Linked DNA regions of Homo sapiens: regions 2, 3, 4, 5 and 6 are each linked to region 1. The links are contacts of gene promoters, found by promoter capture Hi-C in blood cells and fetal thymus (Javierre and others, 2016). All regions are on one chromosome and are shown on one strand. Each heading gives the region's core, a stretch centred on a gene start or on the middle of the fragment in contact. The rest is flanking DNA. Distances are from core to core; before and after follow the strand shown. Region 1 holds the start of TRIM45 (tripartite motif containing 45). Region 2 overlaps GDAP2 (ganglioside induced differentiation associated protein 2). Region 3 overlaps IGSF3 (immunoglobulin superfamily member 3). Region 4 overlaps GDAP2 (ganglioside induced differentiation associated protein 2). Region 5 overlaps WDR3 (WD repeat domain 3). Region 6 overlaps CD58 (CD58 molecule).

Region 1 (2,860 bases), core at 191-2,690:
CCCCAATTAATAAATGGGGGCGAAAACAGGGCCTGCTTTTCTGTAAGAGTTGCAAGATCGAAGGAGATCAAGAACAGGATCTATGCTGTTATATTCATTCTCCTGTTTCTCCAGCACCCAGTACAATTATTCACTACACGAATGACTGAAGGAAACTGTAGCTGCACTTTGTAAATTGAAAGGGTTTATTGCTATTGCTATATTAGGCTATATATTAGGTACTATATTAGGCTAACCGGGTTAACTGTTGTACTGGAGTATTTGCTATTGCATTGTTATATTGCTCTTTGACCTTCCACGGTATTTGAGAAGGCTTTCCTTTTCATCTGCTCACCGAGGGATTTGTCTTGACACCTCTTTGTAATCTGCTCTTAAGCTACACCTGATGGAGTGTCCCATCTTTACCTATGAGCCTGGCAGCAGAAGTGGCAGAGGTTGGCTTTGCAGGTCTGACACCTCTTCTCTACTTCCCTGTCGTTGCACAGGTCACACACCAGGCCCTGGCCTTCCCCACGTAGGCTCTCCAGCATCACATCATTCACGGCCAGGTGGTCTATGGTTAAAGCCTTCACTCCACCCATGGGCAGGTCCACCTGAGCATCACATACAGGACAAAGGATGCCGATCTGCGACTGCAGACTTCGTGGCTTGAGTTCCTGGAATATTGACCCCTCAGAGCTTGTGTCAGAGTCTCCCCCTCGGATGTCCACTACTGAGAAGGGCTCCAGCTGCTCCAGACACGTGGTGCAAACTGTATGCAAACAAGGCAAGAGCCTGGGGGCTTTGAAAAGCCCCAAGCACAGGGGGCAGTGAGTCTTGCCTGAGTTCCCAAGTGCAGTCCCACTAGTGAGTTTGCTTACAAAGCCCAGCAGCGGTTTTCTGTTTTCTGACATACTCCTCACGTTTGTGACCAATATTAGAAAGGGCCCTGGGCAGTTCTACGATTTAGTAGCAGGTGATTAAGCCCACCCAAAGAGAAAGTCTCCAGAACTTGAACAGAGACCATGGGGACTCCCTCGCTGACAAATAAAAGGGCAGACGGGAAGACGAGGCGTCCTCGAAGGAATCACCCACAGATCTACTCAGGAGGGCCCCCTCCTTTCCACTGCATCCCACACCAGACACGCCCACGCCCTCCTCTGCCCCGCAAGTCCTCCCCGGATGCGCTTCCAGGTCTAGCTCTCCAGCTAGTCCTGCTGCCAACAAAGTCACCCCTGCACCTCTCGCTCCCTCCACTGCCACCCCCCTCCCGCCGCCCGCCCCACTGCGCGCCACACGCGACAAGCGCCGACCCCACCCGCGCACGATGAGGTAGGGGCCCTCTTGCTCCTTCCCTCTGCGAAAGGCGCGCGCCGGGTGAGGGAATTGCAAGCCGCCGGCGGGCTTCTCGGTGTCCACCGCCTCTCCCGCGCCTCGGCCCGGGACGCCCGCGGGCTCTGGCCCCTCCTCACACCAATCCCAGCCCGGTCTACTCCGGCGAGTCCAATCACCGTCCGAGAGCGGCGGCCCTCGCCGCTCCGGGCCCCGCCGCCCTCCAGAGTGACGCCACTAAGCATCCAATAAGTTTTGGAAATTCCACATCTTCGCCAGTCCACTCACGCGGGGGGCGGGACCTGACAAGGCCGTGGGCGGGGCGGCCGAAGGGCTTAGAGTGCGGCGGGAGGAAAAGGCCAAGGCTCGGAGCGAGCGGCATAGTGTAGTCAGCGTCACCGTTTCACAGGGACTGTCCCTCTCTCTGTGGTGACCAGAGAGGCCTCAGGACCTCTTAAAAAGCCACGCTGATTTGGCGCCGGGACGGCCTTCTTTCTGCCCTCGGACTCGTCCCACGAACGCAGACTGGGTTCTCCCATTGGTGGATGGCACTGTCAGTTGGCTCTGCGCTGGGAGTGGGAGACGTTTTTCGGGCTCCCGAGGTCTCGGCCGCTCGGGGGCGCCAGACGTTTCTCCTCCACGCGGGTTTGAGGCTGCGAGGCTCCCCTCTGTCCTCAGGCGCTTACTGTAGCTCACAGGTCCCTCAGGCCTAGCGTGCTGGGTACAAGCACTCCCGCGGCTCCCCGACTTTGGGTATTTTTCGGGGGTGAGGGCATCTCAGGCTCGCGTTACGGGGACCGGTTCGGGAGACCGTGGAGCCGAGGTGTCGAATGGAGGGCTTACTTCGGCCGGGCCAGGGAGCGCCACCCTCCTTGTCGGGCTCGGGAAGGCTTTGTTTTCCGGTCCGGGGGGAGTGCAGATGACCTAAGGAGTTGAATGTCACCCGGGATTCCACAGTCCTGTGTAACAGAAACGAGCTGAGCGAGTTGGACCCGCTGTTTTTATCAGTCAATCACGGAGGGCTCCTGCCTGGTCACAGTGAGACAATGGACGGTGGCAATGAGGGACAAGCCCTTTGTGGGCTTAAAACTAATTGGGAAGATGAACACGTCCGACCCCTTTAACTTTATAATTACACGGCCACCTTCTCTGGCCTTACCAGGCGTCTCCTGATTCTCCAAAATTCCAAAAATGGAAACAGCTGCTCCTTTCCCCTCCACCTGTTGTTATCTCCAGTTGCGTCAGCTTGTCTACTGGGCCCTCACTGCTTTCTTTGTTCATGACCTTCCCTACTTAATTTGTACCCAGTGGGCGACTGTTTCACTTGATTCCTTCATTATCTGTTTCATGCTATAGGCATAGTGTCTGGAGCCTAAGCTTTTAAAAGTATGGAATCTGAAAAAAAGTTAACCCCAAAATATGAAAAAAAAAAAAAAAACCATTATAAAATATAAAAATGAAATGTTTGGCCATTTCCAAAATATAACACGCCAATGAGTCAAATGCCACCTTTATATAAAATGTGCAAGTAATTTCCAAATGTTAAGCA
Region 2 (2,709 bases), core at 152-2,651, 770 kb after region 1:
CATTTCGGATTTTTGGGATTTGGGATGTTCAACTGGTAAGTACGATACAAATATTTCAAAATCCAAACAAATCAGAAATCTGAAACACTTCTGGTCCCAAGAATTTTGGATATGGCATACTTAATCTGTATATATCATGTATTCATACTAGATAAAAACTATAGATTTTTTTCATTCACTCTCTCACTGATGGGCACTTGGGCTGTTTCCAGGGTTTTGCTATTGTGAAGAGGGCTACAATCAACTTGTTTTGCGTGTCTCCTGGTATACATGTGCATGATTGCTCTTGAGTAGGTACCAATGAGTGAAAGTGCTAGGTTACAGGGAATGTTTAATTTTAGGAGATAAGGACAAACCTCTTTTCCAAAGCATTGCACCAAATTATACTTCTATAAGAAGCATATGAGACTGTGAATCCCTGTCCTCACCAACACTTGCTACTATTAGATGTTTTAGTGTTTGCCAGTTGGATAGGTTAGAAATGGTAAAGCATTTCTCTGGTCAGTAATGAGGTTGAGATTCTGCTCATGTTGACTTGATTCTATGAGATGCCTGTTCCTATCATTTTTCCATTTTTTATTGGGTTATTTGATTGTTTCTCACCAAGTTGTAGTTCTTTACACATTCTTGATGCTGATCATTTGTTGTGTGTTTTGTGAATATCTGCCCCCATTCCGTAACTTGCTTTTTACTTTGTTTAAGCTTGGCTCTACTTTCAAAAGTTCTTAATTTTAATATAGTCAAAACTATTTTTTCTTTGGTGGTAAATGCTTTTCATGTCTTTAAAAAAATCTTCCCTTTCTCTAAGGTTTGAAGGATACTAGCTTAACTTCTTCCACAGGTTTCAGAATTTTTAAAAATTTAAGTCCTTAATCTATCTAAAGTTGATTTGTCCATAGTGTGAACACAGAATTAGTATAAACTCTAAAATGTTTAAACCTTGATTGATGATTAACAACTTGAGATCTAAAGATAGACTTTGGTTGACAAAATCTCTATGAACATATTTGTGGGGAGAAGTTTATAGTTTACATCAGATTCTTAAAGGGTTCATGATTTTTAAAAGGTTAGAATCACTGCTGAGACACTGGTCCTGTTCTGGTTTCTAAGGACCATGCAACAACTCATGATTGCAATCTTCATCAGGTTTCTTCTTTATTCTAATTAAGTCTCTGCCATTACCACTATAGATTGTGTAAGTCTGATTATTTAGTCATTATTTTAAAAAAATCACCAGTTGGGAAGAAAGAGTAAAAGCAAAAAGACTGTTACTCTTCTCACTCAATAGACAATACCCTCCTTTTTTTCTAAACTTCATTATTCAAAGAATATTTCATGTTTTCTATTACATTTCTTATAAACAGCACCTCACTTTTTGCTATAGTGTTTTGTTTTGTTTAAAGGAAGACATGCAATCTTTTGTTCCAATCCAAAAATCAAAACAAAGCTAAAAGGAAAATATGAACTCAAAATAGTTTCTGGGTTTCCTACAGGATATTTCCTAAATATCCTATATAGAGTACTTTCTTATTCCAAATAAACAAACTTCTATTATTTTATGAGTAAATATAATAATCATGGATAAATAATCGTACAAAATATGTCAAAATGGCAGAAAAAAATAGCCACTACAGTGCTCTAAATGCAGAAACACTAATTAGTTTCTCAATGGGTTGCAACCAACTGAGGTTGGACACTGTTCTCACAAAGCTAATATAAGCCAGTTTCTTCCAGTTAATAAATTACCATCCACCTGTACAGCCAGCAGCTGAATGACAAAAAAAATTTAAACTGTATCACTCTTAAAAGACTAATAACTAACCCATCTGTGTATAATCATCGCCCAGGGAAAATTCTGTCTTTGGAATTAGCAGATGCTTTCCCAGACCTTATACAATTGACCCATCCTAGATTTAGTTAAGATCTTTGTTGTATCCTCTTATTGACCCTGTACAGTAATTTAAACAATTATTCATATACTAATTAGTTTAACATTTTTCTCCTCTGCAAGACCCTAAGCTCCATGCAGGCGGGTGCTGTATCTGTCTTGCTTGTCACTTTATTACCAGTAGTATCCAGCACAACATTTGGCACATTAGTAAAAGCTTAATAAGTATTTAATAATGAAAAAGATAATGATTTTGTTGAGAAAAATGACATAAGAGTCACAGGCAATTGAATCTTAAGCCAGTCAAGTAATACTAATAAAAAAGGAAAGGAAATCTTCCTGTAAAATAACTTGAAGAGTTTCAAAAGCAGTATTTTTGAAAAAGAGTATCTAGGTTGCTTCCTAATTTTGGTAAGTAAACCAATGTCTACCTTATGATACACCCAAATCAGAATCACAACTGGATGACAGACCTGGATTAGAAAGCACGTCTAATTTTTCATGTTAAAAACAATTATTTTGAAGAGATACTGAGGTGACAAGGCAGTGCTACGAAAGGAGTGACATAAAACTATTGCCAATCCATGTGACCTTTAGTTTCGCTACTGATGGAAGAATTGAAGGCTTTTGAAAAGATATTTACTAACTAAAAACCTACTTACTTTTACATTTGTTCAACCTAATTAATTAACATAATCAACAGAAGCCAGACTCAATATGTGAAAATAAAAGCCCGATTTAGAAATATCAAGAGAAAGAAATTTTAAAAACTACAACCTACAATCTCAAATACGGCTGAGCATGCAAACAGTTGACATAGC
Region 3 (2,717 bases), core at 7-2,506, 540 kb before region 1:
AATCCCGGGGGGAAGAGGTGTTTATTTTCACTGTAACCCCTTGTAGTGGCTGAATAGTGTCCCTCCAAAATGCATGTCCACCTGGAACCTCAGAATGTGATTATTTGGAAATAGCAACTTTGCAGACGTAATTAGCAAAGAGGAGGTCTTGCTGGATTGGGGTGGGCCCTAAATCCAGTGGCTGGTGCTATGAACTGAATTGGTCCCCCTCCAAATTAATATGCTGAATTCATAACCCACGATGTGACTACATTTGGAGGTAGGACTTTTAGGAGGTAATTAAAGTTAAATGAGGTCATAAGGCTGAGTGAGACCCTAATCCAGTAAGATTGGTGTCTTATAAGAAGAAGAAGAGAGATCTCTCTCCAGGTGCATGCACCGAGGAAAGACTATTCAAGGACACAGCAAGAAGGCGCCGTCTGCGGGCCAGAAGAGCTCTTACCAGAACTTAGCCATGCTGGTGCCCTGACCTCAGACTTCCAGCCTCTAGGACTGTAGGAAAATACATTTATGTTGTTTAAGCCACCCAGTCTATAGTATTTTGTTATGGCAACTGAGCAGACTAAGATAACTAGTGTCCTTATGAGCACAGGAGAGAAGACAGAGAGAAAGTGGCCATATGATGATGGAGGCCCAAACAGGAGTGAAGCAGCCACAACCAGGGAATGTCTGTGGCCACAAGGAACTGGCAAAGGCCAGGAAGCATTCTTCCCTAGAGCCTTCATGGGGAGCATGGCTATGATGACATCCTGACTTTGGACTTCTGGCCTGCAGAACTGTAAGAGAATAAATTTCTTTTGTTTTAAACAATCAAGTTTATACTAATTTGTTATGGTAGCCCTGGGAATTTAAAACACCCATGCAGTAACTTAAATTTAAACTGTGTGCATGTAGCTTATTGCCTAAAACACAGAGAACCCAAGGAGATCAGTATCTCTCCAAGGATTAAAGCCAGATAACAGACGACAAGGCTGAAAGGGCCCTTCCCTGTGAGCACAGATGTCTCAGGAGGATGTACGCAAAGTGTCCTCCCTGCTTAGGCGGGAGACACAGAGTAACCACAGAGAGGGACCCCAAGCAGGTGAGTCACATCTCACAGATGCCAACAGACTTGAATCTGTTTTGCTGTCTTTTTTTTTTTTTTTTTTTTTTTTTGGCTCACTGTAATATGTTCTAAACAAATAATTCACTCCCTAACTCCTAAAAGGCCTCCCTTTGGCTCTGCTTATGAAATGTTCATGAAAGGTGCCAATGTAATGTAAACTGAAGTAGAGATACCAAATCAGATCCTACTTGGATGAAGACCAAATAGGAGCACTTTCCAAGTATTGTCCTGGGCTTTCAATGAATTGGCTTAGTGTCGCTCACAGGTGAACATGTCGCTCACAGGTTAACACAAGGCTGGGCTTCCCATTGCTCTTGTGGGGGCTCTGCCAAGCCCCTCTGCACCCACCTCCTGCACCCATCTGGAATCTCAGTGTGCACTGCTGGCACAGGAGGGCTCAGTAACCAGCTACAGGTGGCAGGCCCAGCTCTCTCAGGGACAAGAACATGCTTGAGAACAGAATATGGCCGGGTGGGGACTATTCAATCAGTTCACAGGTAACTCAAACTCACTCAACTCCTCAGTTGTAACTCCAAGGCCATTAGAGAGCCCTACTAGAGACCAAGGGGAGCCCCCCACCCCATGCTTTTCTCCTCCAGAGTCTAACATAGTATCCCCACGCTCCTGGTGACTGGCTAAGGTGTCAAGGGAGGTGGCCCTGGGCGATGTGCAGTGGAACTTATCATGGCCAGGGGCAAGATGGCCAGAGACCATCAGTTGAGCTCCTCAGAAACACCTCCTCCCTCTTCAATCTCCCTTTGCTTTCTTGTCTTCTAACCGCTTAACATTTTTCTTGGCCCCTTCAAATGCCTTGTCTGCATAAATGACTCAATACAAGTTTTTCGACAGAAATTAATTTCCACCTTCCCACAATCTCTCTCCCCTTAACATGTTTCTCTACCAATTTAGTTCCCTGAATCTGCCCCCTTCTAGAATATGCCAACCCTCCTCCCTGTTTGGACTTAAATACTCTCTTCTTTTCCAAGTATAAGCCATGGAAAGATGCCGACCTCTGCCCCTGCTGTCTGCGTGACACTAACAGCTCCCCTGGATCTCACTGTGACCGCCAATTCCTGGCCTGTGTGTGATGATTGTGGTTTTCTCCCTTCCCCAGTTGTGTGAGCCCAACACAACTACTAATCGACTCATCTGCAATCTTAGTGAGGATGGGAGCCCTTCATTCCATGTATTTCAGATTATTGTGAATGTCAACTCTCAGCAGTGGAAGGTGATTATTTTCCTAACAATACTTTTAGAGCTATATTATTTCAAGTCTTCCATGTGTTTAACGTATCCCTCCGAAAAAAATCTTTGAAGTACGTCTGCACAATGAATGTTATGAAACCAGTAAAAATGGTGGCTATGAAATGCTTTCACAGACATGGGAAAACGCTCATAAAAGAAAGTTGAGTGGGAAAAAAGATCACATAAAACAGTAAGATCCTGAGTTTGTTTACAGACAGAGGAAATATGAAGACATGAGGCAAAGACCAAAAAATATACACCAAATTATTAATAGTAGATATTTGTAGGCCGTGAGATTATGGCTAACCTTTCTTTTCAAAATTATACTTTTCTGTTTTCCAATGTTTTGTAATTAGTACAATCAACT
Region 4 (2,700 bases), core at 31-2,530, 790 kb after region 1:
CCTAATTGCTTGCAGAAATGAGATAACTAATACGAAGCAAGTTGATCTGTACTGAAAAGCAGTGTTGGATACAAGACAGACTGCTTTGATTCAAATCCTGAGTTCCTGTCAAGACACTCTGGGCAGGGGCTTAGCCTTGTTACAACCCAATTTCCTATTTAAGAGGGATACTAGTAGTACTTACTTCACAGGATTAAACGAGTTACTATATGCAAAGTGCATACATGCATAAGAAATTATTGTTATTATTACTAGAGAATGCTAAAAAGGCTCAGAAATTGGAGCCCTAAGTACTTGTAAAGGCTATGCTGTCAAGTGGGATGTGGTGCTAAAAAGAGGAGGTCCAGTTAAAAGTTTGTATAAAAACAGTCAAATCTGCAACAACCCCTCCCCCAGCCAGCACAGTAAGGTGATGATTTTTTTTTTTTTTTTACCACCAGAGCAGCAGGGAAGAAGTTTATTCTCTGGAGATGCTCAACTAGAGAGTTTCTGGATTCCAGAACCCCAGGCACAGCTGAAAAGAGGGGATTTAGTTAAAGTGTTATACTTAACAGTGAAAGGTCTAGCCCTCTGCCCCTAAATGGCTTTCAAAACAGACATCTAGGCTTACACTCCTGGAGGATTCCTTTCCAAGAAATTGAGAGGCCCAAACCTAAAGGACCTACAGATAACTGGGGAAGTTCCCCAATAAAATAACAGGCAGGAGTCCCATTCTGTCATATGCTTCAAGACCCACCAGGCAATAACCGTTGCCCACTGTTATGAACTGAATGCTTCGGTTCCCTCAAAATTCATATGTTAAACCCTACCCCCTAATGTGATGGTATTAGGAGGTAGGGTCTTTGGGGGTAATTAGAATTAGATAAGCTCATGAGGGTAAAGCTTTCATGAATGAGATCTGAATCCTTGTAAGAGTCTCCAGAGAGTCTGCTCCCTCTCTCTGCCACGTGAAAATACAATGAAAACTCAGCAGTCTGCAGCCAGGAAGACAGCCCTTAGCAGAACTTGACTATGCTGGCACCCTGATCTTGGATTTCAGTCTCCAGAAATTTCTGTTCTTCCTAAGCCATTCAGCCTAGGATACTTTGTTATAGCAGCCTGAAATGACTTAGACACCCATGTGTACAAAGTTTCCCATGAACTTTTCAGTTCTTCCATCTTAAATCCAGCTAACACTTAAGGATCACCAGAAAGTGAGAAAAGCCTCTAACAAAAACTAAAAGGGGAGACTAAACACATGCTCAAGAAATAGACAACACAGGGGAAAAAAAACTTAAAATCAGAATGTCATAAAAACAAACTATTCAGAGAACAGGAAATGGCACTTATGTAACTGCTATAGCCAAGTGAAAAATATGACAGCAGAAATGAAAAGTTCAATAGAAGGGTTAAAACTAAACTTGAAGGAATCCAGAAAATAAAACAAAAATAAATTGAAAATAAGAGATAACAGATGAGAAAACTGAAGAATTAAACAAGAAAATACAACATCTAATAGGATTTCTTCAGAGAGAACAGAGAATACAGAAGGAAGGAAATTATTAATGAAATAAAACAAAAAAATTTCCCAGGATGGAAAGACATCAGTTTCTAGATTCAAAGAGCCCATAAAACACCCAAACCATATGAAGGCAAATCCCTGTAAAATTTAAGAGCACTAAGAAACAAAGATGAGATCAGAAGCTTTCCAGAAAGAAACCAGTAACATACAAACAATCAGGGATAAGAATAGCACAAGACTTCTCAACAGCACTAATCAAAGTAGAAAACAAAGGAGTAGTGCCTTCAAATTTCTAGAAAATGATTTCCAAACTAGAATTCTATTTCTAAGCAAATTACCAATTAAGTACGAAGGTGGAAGTAAAATCTCAGTAGTTTTACCCTATTGCATTCTTCTTTAAAATCTCCTGGTAGATTTACTCACAAAAATGAGAGATCCAATCCACCAAACAGAAAAAAGGATTTCCCAGGATGATGTTAAAAAAAAAAGTTCCAGAACAGTAACTGTGCAGCAGGCACAGAGAACAGTCTAGAGAGGAAAGGGAGGATGGAGGGTTCCAGGAGGGACCTTGGCAAGAAAAAAATGGAATGTAAGGGTCAAACTGTTATCTTCACTCCAATTAAGAGAGCCATCTTAATATGAGTAACAGTCCACTAACAGGTCTAACATGATACAACATTAAGCAGACAACACAACATCACCTATGAAATATTTTAGGCAAAACTTGACTCCATTAGACATAATGTCAAGTTTATAGGAAATACAAACTAAATGGCACCTCAAGTAAATCAGACAAATCTAGAAGGAGGAATACTGTGAAAAATAAGTGGCCTTGTTCAGTCAACAAGTCAGTGTCATAGACAGGGGACTGTGCTGGATTACAAAATACCACACACACAGAGACAAATTAATAAACATAACAAAAAGATGCAATGTCTGGTCCTGGATTGGATACTGGTTTGGATAAAATAGCTGCTGCAAAGGACATTTTTGGATCAGCTGGAAATTTTAAATATGGTCTGGGTAGTAGATGTAATTTCAGAAATTAAAAGGTGGAATTCATTTGCTGAAGAAGGCAAATTGCAGAATATGTACATGATTACCTTATTTTGAGAGTAGCATACACATAATTATTTTGGTATCAAAAGATATAAGAATGTATGTATACATCCACACCCACATACAGGTTCATACAACAA
Region 5 (2,984 bases), core at 391-2,890, 810 kb after region 1:
ACCACTGTACAAGAAGGTAAGTACCATGAGGTTAGGGATTTTGCCTTGTTAATAGTGTATTTCCAGTGTCTAGAATGGTGCCTGTCTAATTGGTAGGTTTTCAATAGATATTCATTGAAAAATATGTTCAGTCTCAGACTGCCAATCTCTGTGTAAAAGCTTTGATGCTGGTTTAATGGGCAGAAGTAAATCAGTTTAGCTGCATTGAGCCTATAATGTCAGATATGCATGAGGTGGGCATGACAACGTGACTAATTTGGAACTTGAGGAATGAGGGATTATATTGAGTCAACACTGAATAAAAAATGATGTCCAGGTATTTTAGGTCAATGATTCATTTAGAGTAAATAAAGATTAAGAAGTCACAAGTTACATGCTTTTAATGACATGATCAACAGTTGGTGTTGTTCTGGCGCAGTGGCTAACACCTGTAATCCCAGCACTTTGGGAGGCCGTGGCGGATGGATCACTTGAGGTGAGGCTTTCGAGACGAGCCTGGCCAATATGGTGAAACCCCATCTCTACTAAAAAAAAAAAAAAAAAAAAAATTAGCCGGGTATGGTGGCACATGCCTGTAGTCCCAGCTACTCGGGAGGCTGAGGCAGGAGAATCGCTTGAACCTAGGAGGTGGAGTCAGCTGTGAGCCAGGATCCCACCACTGCACTCCAGCCTGGGCAACAGAGTGAGACTCTGTCTCAAAAACAAAAAAACAGTTGGTGTTTACTAACCTAGTAGAACCAAGGCACCCAAGGAGCTGAGTTTTCTTTGTTTATATGCACAGATTGCTTCACCTGTGGTATCAGACATCACAACATGGGGCTCACCAAGCAGTACCTACGCTATGTTGCTAGTGCGGTCTTTGGCGTTATCGGCAGCCAAAAAGGTAATATTGTCTTTGTGACACTTCGTGGTGAGAAAGGACGTTATGTGGCAGTACCAGCTTGTGAACACGTTTTCATCTGGGACTTAAGGAAAGGAGAGAAGGTGAGCCTAAAATGACCAGTTTGATACTGATTTATTGGTATTTGAGGATGGAGAGGTAGTAGAAGTGGGGGGGCTCTGATTTATTTATCATGAGTTTTTTTGTGTCTGTGCCCTTAGAAGAAAAATCTTTTTCCTTTAGGTCTAGCTAGCCAAGCATCAAGTTCCTTTGTGTTCTTCGCCACTGAATTCTGAAAACCACAATGAAATAGGAGCTTATTTCTTAGATGTCTATTTGTTGGAATATTTACAGGTCATTATTTGCAGTAATTATTTATTCCTGATGTATTTTTTCTCTACCAATTCTATTTTTCAAGCTCGACTTATGCTTATAGCTGGTTATAAAATATTAGGCATGTAAAAGGAAGGTTAGTCTATTTTGGCAGAATCTTTTTCTAATATGGATAATGCCCAAGTGTTGTTAAAGTAGACTTTGATACTTTGTGTGACTGAATTCCCTAAGCCTACCACTTTTGCCAAACCAAATATAGGCATTTTGATATTGTCCATTCATTTTGTGATTCCCAAGAGGTTAGTACTTTGATTCTTGTTGCCACCAAGAGTCCTTTGTGGTTAAAACCACTGCAGTACTCTGTTGCCACACAGATTATTTTCTTATAAAATGGGTCTCAGTTAAAGGAATTTATAAACCTTTATTGAAAATCACGTAGTGTTGTTCTAGGGTTAAGAATTAGATTAAAGGGATTAAATTTATTTTATTGCCTAGGGAGTTTTTATATGTATTACAACAACGTAGGGCTTTGGAGAAAATAATTAAGCCTTTTCTTAAATGTTTCATTGCCTAGTACAAATACTAATTTCTATATTAAAAAACTTGAAATGGATTGTGGAGTTTCATTTTTATTCATAAGAGTAATTTGGAATTATTGGTGCTCTTAATTTTACTGTGCCTGAGTATTCCTATGCTTTTCCCTTGAGTTCATGCTTAACTCTTCTACATTGTTTTTAATTTTTATGATTTCAGATTCTTATCCTTCAGGGGCTTAAACAAGAAGTTACTTGCTTATGCCCCTCCCCAGATGGGCTACACTTAGCTGTTGGGTATGAGGATGGGTCGATCCGAATCTTCAGTCTCCTGAGTGGGGAAGGAAATGTGACCTTCAATGGTCACAAAGCAGCTATCACTACCTTGAAGTATGATCAGCTAGGAGGCAGACTGGCATCTGGGTCCAAGGTGAGCCTTTGAATCAGCCCAGGCTTTGATCTATTAAAGGAATGTAAGGCTTATGCTGAAGCAAGTTGTTGACAAAAATTGTCAGGTAAAACAATGGGCTGTCAATATACAAAGTAGTATAATGATAGAGTGAAGAGGATGGGTGTGAATTGGGTGGTTCATTTTGTTTCCTTTTGTTCATTTTGTCATATTTTCTGATAAAAGCCTCTTAAGTGTAGGAATAAGATGAAGAGAGCCATGATAACTCTTATTGTGGAAGTGCTACGCAAAACAGTAAAATAAGGAAAGAAAACAAAGACTGGAAAAGAAGAGACAAAATAATTATTTGCCATTGACTTCTGTAAAGTCAGTAGAATTTCCTGTATCTCACAAGTCATGAGTTAGAAAATATAAAAGATTCCATTCACAACAGATTAAGTAACAGACATAAAAATACCATGAAACTTTACTGAAGAATGGAATAGAAGACTTTTATAGAGATATAATCCATGTTCTTGAATGGGAAGACAAGGTATTGAAAAGATGGTAGTGTTTTCTAATTGATTTATATAGCTAAAGCTATGTTTAGACATATGTTTATATAGATACAGATATATTTAAATAGATATCTTAAAGGTTTTAGTTGTTACTTAGAACTTGACCTAATATGGAAAAGCAAAGGAATTGGAAACACTAAAATTTGGGAAGAAAAGAATAATAAAACAGGGGTTTTAGATATTAAAATGTCATATAAACCCATAATTTAAGAAGTATCATATTGATACTTCAATGCAAGTACCAATGCAAAATAGATTATTGCAACCAAATG
Region 6 (2,849 bases), core at 45-2,544, 560 kb before region 1:
ATGTCGAAATGAAAATATTATGGATATATTAGGTTAACTAAAATATATTATTAAAATTAATTTCACATGTTCCATATTATACTTCTATTTGAGAGCACTTCTTTAGCCTGTTGTTTCAAGACACTCACATCCCACCTTTCTCAAAGGCCACATTTGTCTTTGACTGTTCTCACCTTAGATAGGATACAGCTGAGATCCACAGTATGCTTTAGGGAATAAGGTTCTTACTAGATCGGTTAAGGCTGTGAGTGTTTTTAAATCTATTCTCCAAAGTCTGATTCAAGGTATTTCAATACAGTACTGATCATTTCACTAAAATTCCTTGAGAATCCTTGTTATTTTCTAGATACTCAGTTCATCGTTGGGAAACTCTATTGCAAGTAGTTTACAATGGCACAGCCTCATTAGTTTCTTATTAATCTGATTTTTTATTTTTTTCTGAATGTGTATGTTAAACTTCAATTTTCTTCTAATTTTTAACTGGCATAGGAAGAAAATGTTCAAGAAACTACAGACTGGTCAGCCCAGTGGAAATTCAGGCACTAATCTCAACAGACATTTTGGGGAACATTGTAAAGTAAGCAAAGTTCACTAGAACCTATAAAGTAACCAAAAAGCATTTTCCTTGGAGGCTGATGGGCAGGCACTGAAAGTTATCTCCAAAGAGGAACTGCTAAAATGTTTTCCCCTCCTTTTCTAGGGACAGTCTCTGTATCTTATAGTCACACTTTATATTCAAACCTGAACTTATCTGAGAAAAGAGAAACGGCTGCATCCTGGTTTCACTTACAACCCTGAGATGGAAGTTGAGATTTGTCATTGCAGAATTTAAGGGTCTGTGTCCTTAAGTAAAACCTTCTGGTCACCCCTCAAGTAAAGCTTCAAAAAAGCTTAGGCACTTGTGCAGAAACAGCATGAGAAGAAACCAAAAGGCAGAAAACTTACACATATAAGGGCTGATTTATGCAAAGTTTCTACTTTTAAACAGAGAAACCAATACCTACCCTCAAAGCCTGTATTTACTAAAGAAATGTTAGAGTGACAAGGAGGTCAATAAAATAAATTATTCAAATCTGGTTCTTAAAAAGAGGTTCTAAGACTATTTTAAAACTTCTGAAAGATGCCCATCAAAATTAAAACAAAAAAACATAGCAACGAATACAATGAGTGAAACTTGATTAGATCCGGGTTTTTTAACAAAAGACACTCTTGTGACAAGTGGGGAAATCTGAATACGGGTAAAAGTTAGGTGATGTTACAGGATTAGTGTTAATATTTATAGATGTTATGATGTTATTGAGATTATGCAAAAGTGTCTAGGAGTGAAATGTGGGTACCTAGAGAATGTAAATATAATAATGTTAATAATAAATATGTCAATAAATTGCCATTGTAAATTCTATGTCCCAAAGAAGCACCCCTCACCATTACAAATTATGATATTAAATACAATTTTGCATGACTGGTAATTGTGCTGACCTATATTTCCCATGTTTTAGCAGAATTTCATTGGACAATGTATACATGTTGGATATAAGAAATCAGTAGTACTCATCTTCAAAAAGTTGCTTAGTGGATCTCAGGCTAGGGATACAACAGAGCATATAAAGGAATAGGTTCTGATTCAGAGAGAATCAAAGTTCAAGTTCACTCTGCCACTTATTTGCTGTGTGAACTTGGACACATTACTGAACCTACCTAAGCTTTGTTCTCCTATTAAATGTTCCCTATGTAATAAAATCAGTGTGACAATTAAATAAAAACATCTCAAATCTGAAGCATAGCTCCTGGCACAGAGCAGGTACTTACCTCCTAGTGGCTATTATTACTTACACTCTGTTATAACACTGGGCCTAGTTTTCCTATAGGAACACACAACACTATTTTAACTTGGATTATCTTTGCTAAATAAAAAAACACAGACTGTCTAAGTCTCAACTCCAGCAAAGCACATGAACAAGTCTCACATAATAATGTGAGATAATTTCAAATGGAGAAATGCTGGACAAATACATTGTCATCTAATGTTCAGATTCAACAATCTTTACTATTAAAAAAAAACAGATCAATATAAGGAAAATTTTAAAAAATAATACATGACTTCTGCATACAAGGAACTTAAAATCTAGTTATGCAGATAGTTGGCAATAAAGGATCTGTAAAATGTCAACAACAGCAGAATAAGACAGACTCTGTTAATAATAAAATAGTTCCTACCTTTTTATTTTTTATTTTTTTGCTCTGTTACCCAGGCTGGAATGCAGTTGTGTCATCATGGCTCACTGCAGCCTCAAATTCCCAGACTCAAGCAATTGCCAGGCTCATCTCAGCCTCCTGAGTAGCTGGGACTACAGGCGTGCACCACCACACCTGGCTAACTTTTTGTAGAGATGGGGTGTATTAGTCCATTCTCGCACTGCTAATAATGACATACATGAGACTGGGTAATTTATCAAGGAAAGAGGCTCAATGGACTCACAGTTCCACATGGCCAGGGAAACCTCACAATCATGGCAGAAGGCAAAGGAGAAGCAAAGTCATGTCTTAATGGTGGCAGGCAAGAGAGAGCGTGTGCAGGGGAACTCCCCTTTATGAAACCATCAGATCTTGTGAGACTTATTCACTATCACAAGAACAGTATAGAGGAAACTGCCCTCATGATTCAATTATCTCCACCTGGCCCTGCCCTTGACACACGGGGATTATTACAATTCAAGGTGAGATTTGGGTGGGGACACAGCCAAACCATATCATTCCACCCCGGCCCCTCCCAAATCTCATGTCCTCACATTTCAAAACACAATAATGCCCTTCCAACAGTCCCTCAAAATCTTAACTTATTCCAGCAT

What was found. Contacts are between HindIII fragments. The CHiCAGO score rates a contact against its expected background, and 5 or more counts as called.
Region 2: a contact is called between a fragment that was not itself captured here and the fragment with the promoter of TRIM45 in region 1, in 2 of 17 cell types (naive B cells and total B cells). The highest score is 8.4, in naive B cells.
Region 3: a contact is called between a fragment that was not itself captured here and the fragment with the promoter of TRIM45 in region 1, in 7 of 17 cell types (activated CD4 T cells, naive CD8 T cells, naive CD4 T cells and 4 more). The highest score is 10.7, in activated CD4 T cells.
Region 4: a fragment that was not itself captured here is called in contact with the fragment with the promoter of TRIM45 in region 1 in 1 of 17 cell types (total B cells); the score reaches 6.4 in total B cells.
Region 5: a fragment that was not itself captured here is called in contact with the fragment with the promoter of TRIM45 in region 1 in 1 of 17 cell types (total B cells); the score reaches 7.0 in total B cells.
Region 6: a fragment that was not itself captured here is called in contact with the fragment with the promoter of TRIM45 in region 1 in 4 of 17 cell types (total CD4 T cells, fetal thymus, naive CD4 T cells and 1 more); the score reaches 8.5 in total CD4 T cells.

What each region holds. Positions count from the first base shown.
Region 1 is chr1:117,120,309-117,123,168 of GRCh38, forward strand. It overlaps TRIM45 (tripartite motif containing 45), which reads right to left and starts at 1,441. Exons shown (of 6, transcript NM_025188.4): 1 at 406-1,441. The coding sequence starts at 893. RefSeq lists a silencer at 1,206-1,395 and an enhancer at 1,706-1,875. The HindIII fragment of the contact is 3,223 bases long and covers 1-2,686 here.
Region 2 is chr1:117,891,001-117,893,709 of GRCh38, forward strand. All of the region lies in intron 8 of GDAP2 (ganglioside induced differentiation associated protein 2), which reads right to left. Among named protein-coding and RNA genes, the nearest start is that of GDAP2, 37 kb to the right of the region's middle. The HindIII fragment of the contact is 1,403 bases long and covers 701-2,103 here.
Region 3 is chr1:116,580,191-116,582,907 of GRCh38, forward strand. The region is part of intron 9 of IGSF3 (immunoglobulin superfamily member 3); the gene reads right to left. Among named protein-coding and RNA genes, the nearest start is that of CD58, 11 kb to the left of the region's middle. The HindIII fragment of the contact is 6,350 bases long and covers 1-2,717 here.
Region 4 is chr1:117,912,986-117,915,685 of GRCh38, forward strand. The region is part of intron 3 of GDAP2 (ganglioside induced differentiation associated protein 2); the gene reads right to left. Among named protein-coding and RNA genes, the nearest start is that of GDAP2, 15 kb to the right of the region's middle. The HindIII fragment of the contact is 801 bases long and covers 881-1,681 here.
Region 5 is chr1:117,932,507-117,935,490 of GRCh38, forward strand. WDR3 (WD repeat domain 3) reads left to right here. Exons shown (of 27, transcript NM_006784.3): 2 at 782-984; 3 at 1,967-2,176. The coding sequence starts at 814. Among named protein-coding and RNA genes, the nearest start is that of WDR3, 4.3 kb to the left of the region's middle. The HindIII fragment of the contact is 2,966 bases long and covers 158-2,984 here.
Region 6 is chr1:116,560,112-116,562,960 of GRCh38, forward strand. The region is part of intron 1 of CD58 (CD58 molecule); the gene reads right to left. LOC105378925 (a long non-coding RNA gene) reads left to right here. Exons shown (of 3, transcript XR_947739.2): 3 at 1-1,076. Among named protein-coding and RNA genes, the nearest start is that of MIR548AC, 1.4 kb to the left of the region's middle. RefSeq lists an enhancer at 2,407-2,556. The HindIII fragment of the contact is 813 bases long and covers 889-1,701 here.